Linked DNA regions of Homo sapiens: region 2 is linked to region 1. The links are contacts of gene promoters, found by promoter capture Hi-C in human tissues and cell types (Jung and others, 2019). All regions are on one chromosome and are shown on one strand. Each heading gives the region's core, a stretch centred on a gene start or on the middle of the fragment in contact. The rest is flanking DNA. Distances are from core to core; before and after follow the strand shown.

Region 1 (3,752 bases), core at 441-2,940:
TCTTTGGTGCCTATTGACAGTTCAGGGCCCCAAGGTGGGTCCCAGGGTGTCTTTGAGCAGTAAGTGTTAACTTATCTGCAGGCCTCATATAATAGATTTGCTAAGGAGCACCTACTCACAGAGCAGTGATGCCCTTGATATTGTCAGCCAATTAATTCCTTAAGTACTTCAAGTTAGGATAGGCCTGCTGATTTGATTTTATCTGTCTTTTAAGATTGATCTTTGATCATGTCCCATTCCAGCTGGACCTCCTCATCTTCCCTCCTCCATTGCTAATAGTGTGGGATCTAATTACCTCATCATCCCTTAATTTATTTATGAAAAAGGCTGAGGTTAAAGAAAAGAAAGAAGAAACTCTCTTTGGCCCTTTGGGGACCTTCTGTAAAAGCTTTCCCTTCTGTTTCTCCCTCTTTATGCACAAGAAAACCTCCCTTTTTTGTCTCTGGGAAGTTAGAATAGTTCTTGTTTACAAATTTAACTAAATTAAACTTCCCTCCCAGGGCTGGGTGGAGGCCAGCCCTGTGGGTTAAGCCTGGCCTGTCGACTGTGGGTTAAGCCTGGCCTGTCGACTCCCGCTGGAATAATCAATCTATCAAAACAACCCATTGATCCTGAGGCAAACCGCTTTCAAAACCACCACATAGTTCCTGGACGTCCTGGCTTCCTCATGACACTTGGGGAAGAGGAGTCTTTTGAAATTTTAAATTTTATTATTACACAAGTAATACATGGATACATTCGTCTTGTAAAAATTTAACTTCAAAATTCTGTGGAATAAAATGTGAAAGGCCTTTTCTTTGCATCCCATCCCACAGTTAAGAGCTTCTGATGTATTTTTCTGTTTAGGCCTTTAAACTGCACGTTCATACACGTACACCTATATAAATGTACATTTAATTTTAAAAATAACATAAATGGTATCACTACGTAGGTGCCCTTCTGCTAGTTGTTTTCCCATTTAACATGTCCTGGGTAGCCAGTCAGACCACAGATCTACGTTTTAACGGCTGTAATCATATTTCAAAAACAGGATAGAGGCATTATTCATTTATCCATTTTCCTACTGATGGGTGTTAATATAGATTTCAATTTTTTGGTATTACAAACTATGTTGCAAGCAGCAGTTCTCTGGGAATTATCCATTCAAGTATGCACTTATTTTGGGCTCCCCATGTGCTCTACTCGGGGTTCGGAGTAAACAAAACCGACCTAAAAATAATTTTGAATGATAGAAAGGGGGCATTTTCTTTATCCAAGGGGGTGAGGCAGGCTGAAGATGGGTCTCTACTCCCTCCAAGACCATGGAGGGCGTCGGGGTGTCACCCCAGCTGTGAAAAAGGGACCCAGGACCCGCAGATGCTGGCGAGGAACAGGGGTGCGGAGCATGAGTCGGCTTTGCACCACGCCCTGGGGTCTCCAGCACTGAAGCGTTCAGTACCATGCAGAGCAGCTGGGAGCGGGTCCCGCTGGGCGGGGCCGAGCTGCGCGCGACCCTCGGCGCGCTCGGGGAGGCCCAGACAGGGGTGGCCTCTCTGGCCTCCGCTCCCGCGGGCTCTATGACACCGCACTGGCTCGCGGGACGGGGCGGGGTCGGGTGAGGGGGAGGAGACAGCCCCACGCTTTGCGACTCGCGGTGACCCCTACGCGGAACTCTCTCGCGGTAATTCGAAGTACCGCGCCTGCGTGCTGCAGTAGCGCCTGGTGGCGGTGGCAGTTTGCCCGCGGGTGTGTGAAGGGAGACAGTGTGGAGGCCACAGGGTACTCGCCACGATGAGCAGCACCTTAGCTAAGATCGCGGAGATAGAAGCAGAGGTAATGGACGCAGCTGGCGGTTCACTCTTAGTCTGAGCATTCCTTCTTTGGTGGCGTCGCTCCTTCCTGTTCTCCTTTGAGCCGCGTCAGGACCGGGCCTAGATTCCGCGACTTCTCTCAGCGAGGCCCGTGTTCCGACTGCCCTCTGCCACGATTAGGAGTCCCCGACTCTCCTCAGTCAGGGCCCCCTTTCCCCTCGTCCCGCGTCTACGCTCTCGGACTCCCCTTTGCCCGGGCCCGCGTTCCGCACCCCTGCACCTTAGGCCCTTAGTCCGTTCCCCCTCCCAGTGTTTGGCTCCTGTTCTGATGTTGTTTCTTTCCGTTTTGCTCTGAGAAACACTGAATCCTGTCCCTTATTCCATCTCTGACTTGGTCAGATAGTTCAGGATCTTTCCTCATCATCCTTCGCTGCGTCCCCCTTATTCCCCCTTTTCCCAGTGTCTACCCTAATGACCCCCTGATTCAGAGTATTTGCTCCCGGTAATCGGATCTGGAAGTAAAATGACATCTGTGTGGGAGCAGTTTATTCCGCCTGGATAGTGTGTGATTCCATTGCGTGCGGCCCTGAGAGCGCTTTACAATTAGGAAAGTGGTGTCCCAGTGTTAGATGGATCCAAACAGCTGCAAATAGTAGAAAAGGAACCCGCAGACGGGTTTCAGTCTAGTCTGGGGGCACTAATTGGAATGACCTTAATCGTCTTTCCTCTTTGGGCTTTGCTTTGCTTTGTAGTGAGGGAAATGAGCTGGATGGAGGAGATAATGGACTTTTACTCTTTTAAAGCCTGTAAACTGGGTGTGCTAACATTAGTAGGACTTGGGGAAAAAAATTATCCTCTCAAAGCTGGGGGAAGCGTTCACTGCTTCTAATTTATGGCTGTGATTCCTCCCTTTTAGATGGCTCGGACTCAAAAGAACAAGGCCACAGCACACCACTTAGGGCTGCTTAAGGCTCGTCTTGCTAAGCTTCGTCGAGAACTCATTACTCCAAAGGGTGGTGGTGGTGGAGGTCCAGGAGAAGGTTTGTGTTCTTCTTCAATATATATATTTTTAGGTATAATTTTTGTCAAAATAGTACATACATGTGGTTTAAAAATAACTAAAGATGGCCCAGTGCAGTGGCTCAACGCCTGCAATCCTAGCATGCTGGGAGGCTGAGATAGGAGGATCACTTGAGGCCAGGAGTTCAAGACCAGCCTGATCAACATAGACCCCCATCTCAAAAAAAAAAAAAAGTTTTTTAAAAACAGAAAAATAACTAAAGATGTTCTACTAAAGTAGATTTATATTTTCTAAGCATGAATTCTTGAACTGTGTTTATTTTTATTCTGCCGGTTTCAGAGGCAAATGAATATTGTCTAAGTGTACTGTAGTTTTATTTATATCCTGCACTGATACAAAATAGATTTACATGCGCTGGGTGCAGTGGCTCACCCTTGTAATTCCAGCACTTTGGGAGGCTGAGGCGGGAGGATTGCTTGAGGCCAGGAGTTCGGAACCAGCAAAGCCCTGTCTCTATGGGCTTAGAAATGAGGGGTCCCCATAGGTATGAAAGAAGATGTACCAAAAAAAAAAAAAGGCTGGGTGCGGTGGCTCACGCCTGTAATCCTAGCACTTTGGGAGGCCAAGGCGTGGATCACGAGATCAGGAGTTCAAGACCAGCTTGGCCAGCATGGTGAAACCCCATCTCTACTAAAAATACAAAAATTAGCTGGGCATGGTGGCGCATGCCTGTAATCCCAGCTATTTGAGAGGCTGAGGCAGGAGAATTGCTTGAATCGGGACCCAGGAGGCAGAGGTAGCAGTGAGTGAGATTGTACCACTGCACTCCAGCCTGGGCTACAGAGCTAGACTCTGTCTCAAAAAAAAAAAAAAAAAAAAAAAGTATCCTAGCATGGTGGTGCATGTTTGTGGTCTCAGCTACTTGGGAGGCTGAGTTGGGA
Region 2 (3,752 bases), core at 226-2,725, 280 kb before region 1:
CACCCTGGCTTTCTGAAGGGCAAAATCAAAACTCTAAAAACTTTTTTTGACCCAGTAATTCCATTTTTCAGAATTAGCCCCAAAGTAATCATCAGAGAGAGGATTGTTAGGTCAAGCTTGTTTATTAGAATACCATTTATCGTGGTGAAGAACTGGGGATATAACCTAAGCATGTCACAGCAGGGGATGAGTTAAATTAATGAGTGTACCTCCATAGGATGGAAAACCATGCAATTGTTAAAAATGATGCAGCAGGCTGGGCGTGGGTGGCTCACGCCTGTAATCCCGGCACTTTGGGAGGCCGAGGTGGGCGGATCACCTGAGGTCAGGAGTTTGAGAGCAGCCTGGCCAATATGGTGAAGCCCCATCTCTACTAAAAATATAAAAATTAGCTGGGCATGGTGATGGCTGCCTGTAATCTCAGCTACTTGGGAGGCTAAGGCAAGAGAATTGCCTGAACCCAGGAGGCAGAGGTTGCAGTGAGCTGAGATCGCACCACTGCACTCCAGCCTGGGCGAGTGAGACTCTATCTCAAAAAAAAAAAAAAAGATGCAGCATAGATGGAATGACATGGAGAATGTTCGTGGTTATGGTATTAAATAGCAAGAAAAAAGCAACAAAAACAGTAATCTGGTAATATCAATTGGGAGTTGTGATGCTGTGGGCTGCAAGTCATAGAAACCCCAATTTAAACTGGCTTAAACAATAAAGGGAGCTGGTTGTGGTGGCTTGTGTCTATAAACCCAGCTACTCAGGAGGCTGAGGCAGGAGGATAACTTGAGGCCAAGAGTTCCAAACTATCCTGGACAACATAGTGAGAACCCATCTCTAAAAAAAGATATTTAAAATCTAGCCAGGCATGGCAGTGCCTGTAGTCCCAGCTACCCCAGAGGCTGAGGTGGGAGGACTGCTTGAGCCCAGGAGTTCAAGACTACAGTGAGCTATGATCATGCCACTGCACTCTAACCTGGGAGACAGAGTGAGACCCCATCTCCTATAAAAAATAAAAAATAATACAGTGAGCCAAGATCGTACCACTGCACTCTAGCCTGGGCAATGTGAGTAAGACCCTGTGTCAAAAAATAATAAAAATAAAGGGGCTGGGCCCAGTGGCTCATGCCTGTAATCCCAGCACTTTGGGAGGCCGAGATAGGCAGATCACTTGAGGTCAGGAGATGGAGACCAGCCTGGCCATCATGGTGAAACCCCCTCTCTACTAAAAACACAAAAACTAGCTGGGCATGATGGTGCACACCTGTAATCCCAACTACTTAGGAGGCTGAGGAAGAGAATTGCTTGAGCCCGGGAGGTGGAAGTTTCAGTGAGCCAAGATTGCGCCACTGCACTCCAGCCTGGGTGCCAGAGCGACACTCAGTCTCTAAATAAATAAATAAATAAAGGGACTCTGTTGGCTCAAATAATTTTAAAAGTCCAGGACAGGCACAGTGGCTGACGCCTGTAATCCCAGCAATTTGGGAGGCTGAGGCGGGCAGATCACCTAAGGTCAGGAGTTTGAAACCAGCCTGGCCAACATGGCGAAACCCCGTCTCTACTAAAAATACAAAAATTAGCCAAACGCAGCGGTGGGCACCTGTAACTCCAGCTACTCGGGAGGCTGAGGCAGGAGAATCGCTTGAACCTGGGTGGCGGAGGTTGCAGTGAGCCAAGATCGTGCCACTGTACTCCAGCCTGGGCGACAGATTGAGACTCCATTTCAAAAAGAAGAAAAAAAAAGTCCAATGGCAGGTGGGGCTTCAGGTGAAGTTTGATCCAGTTAATGAAGTCACCAAAGCCTGGTGTCTCTCCATTCTGCTTTCCATAATGTCAGTTTATCAGTAGGCCAATTTTCTACATGGTGTAAAGATGGCTGCCAGCAGTAACTAGAGCCATTGGCCTCTTCATTTACATCTAATGGAAGGAAGATCATCTTTTTTGGCAGCCTCCTCAGGAGAGAAAATAAGCTTCCTTTCCCAAAAGCCCTGAGCAAAAATTTCCTTGTATCTTGCTAGTTCATTCGTGATCTAATCATGTGCCTGGGGAAATGGGAATTGCTTACTGGCTTAACCAACTGGGACCCATTCCTGAAGCTGAGGGTGGGGTCCACCATATTCCAGTTCCTGTTAAGAAGGAGATGGGCTGCAACCTTAACAGGATCCTAACCCTAACCCTAACCCTACTGTGTTGCTGGACATTGTGGCAGCAACACAGTAACCAACCAATTCTATAAAACATGTATAGGCCCAGTCTTGGTGGCTCACGCCTGTAATCCCAGCACTTGGGAGGCCAAGGCATGTGGATCACTTGAGTCCAGGAGTTCAAGACCAGCCTGGTCAACAAGGCAAAACCCTGTCTCTACTAAAAATACAAAATTAGCTGGGCATGGTGGTGCATGTCTGTAATCCCAGCTACTCGGGAGGCTGAGGCAGGAGAATTGCTTGGACCAGAGGTGGAGGTTTCAGTGAGCTGAGATCATGCCACTGCACTCCAGCCTGGACGACAGAGTGAGACTCCATCTCAAAAAATAGATATAGCTATATAAAATATATAACACGTATATGTAAATATACATGTATATAAATATATATGCATATTATATACAACATGTATATAAATATATATGCATATTATATACAACATGTATATATAAATATATATGCCTAGACCCCCGCCCCCACCAAAAAATATCTATAAGGAAACAAACCAATAAGTCAGAACGATTATTTCTTGGTGGATGAAATTATAGGTAAATGTTTTCCTTCTGTGTTTTGTGTAATGGGCATGGATTACCTAAACACAAACAGTAAACTTTATTTACGAAAATAATGGGACATACCCCACTATTTCCTTCTACTCCAACCCCTACCCCAGCAAGGGCCTCAGAGTAACTGAAGCCAGAGGCCCCACGGAGTCGTTCTTGCTGCTGACAGAGCCAAACCCCAGTACCCCATGGGCCCTGGTTGTTTGCTGGACAGATGCCACCAAACCACTCTCATTGCATTAGCCTGGATGCTGTGGCCCCTAAAGGCCACAGCTTGGGCTGCTGAGGGTTGACCAACCAGCCAGTGGAACCAGTGGTGGAGACTGTGACCATAACAGTACCAGGAAGGAACACTGTGGCATCAGCAGCATGAGAAGCCCAAGATCTCCCAAGACAGATCTCTGCCCATAATCCATGCCTCTTATGTGGCAGCATGTAATTTAGGCCAGCAGTCTTCCTCAAGTGGGGCCAAGGTTGGGGATTAGTCTGTGATGGGGTCAGGCTCAGACAGGGTCTAGGTCAGCCCTTAGTTGAGTAGTCTGTAGCCTAGGGCTAGATACAGGGCTCAGTCCATGATTGGGCTTAGTCTTTAGTCTGTGACCAGGAGCCAGGCTCAGTCTGTGACCAGGGTCATGTCTCTGTCAATGACTAAGTTCAGGGCTCAGTCTGTGACCAGATTCAGGGCACAGTCTTCCGTTTAGGGCTCAGTGTGTGACCAGAATTGCATGATCCAGGGTCAGAATTCAGTCTGTGGTCAGAGTTCAGTCAATGATTAGGCTCAGGACTCAGTCTTTGACCAAGATTAGGGCTCAGTCTTCTGCCAGAGTCAGGGTTAAAAGGTTAGTCTGACTCTTCTGCCAGAGTCAGTCTAAAAGGTTAGTCTGGGCTGGGGCTAGAATTCAGTCTGTGACTAAGGCTCAGTCTTAGAGAAGGATAAGGGCTTGATCTGGGCCCAGAACTAAGGTCTCAAGTTGGGATCAGCCTAATTCAGGCT

The links. Contacts are between HindIII fragments. The study calls those that stand out against the background at their distance.
Region 2: a fragment that was not itself captured here is called in contact with the fragment with the promoter of DRG1 in region 1 in 1 of the 25 tissues and cell types used here (dorsolateral prefrontal cortex).

What each region holds. Positions count from the first base shown.
Region 1 is chr22:31,397,914-31,401,665 of GRCh38, forward strand. It overlaps DRG1 (developmentally regulated GTP binding protein 1), which reads left to right and starts at 1,691. Exons shown (of 9, transcript NM_004147.4): 1 at 1,691-1,812; 2 at 2,707-2,830. The coding sequence starts at 1,771. RefSeq lists a silencer at 1,351-1,630 and enhancers at 1,718-2,623, 1,751-1,800. The HindIII fragment of the contact is 5,082 bases long and covers 1-3,752 here.
Region 2 is chr22:31,115,143-31,118,894 of GRCh38, forward strand. All of the region lies in intron 1 of LOC105372995 (a long non-coding RNA gene), which reads right to left. Among named protein-coding and RNA genes, the nearest start is that of INPP5J, 5.9 kb to the right of the region's middle. The HindIII fragment of the contact is 5,360 bases long and covers 1-3,752 here.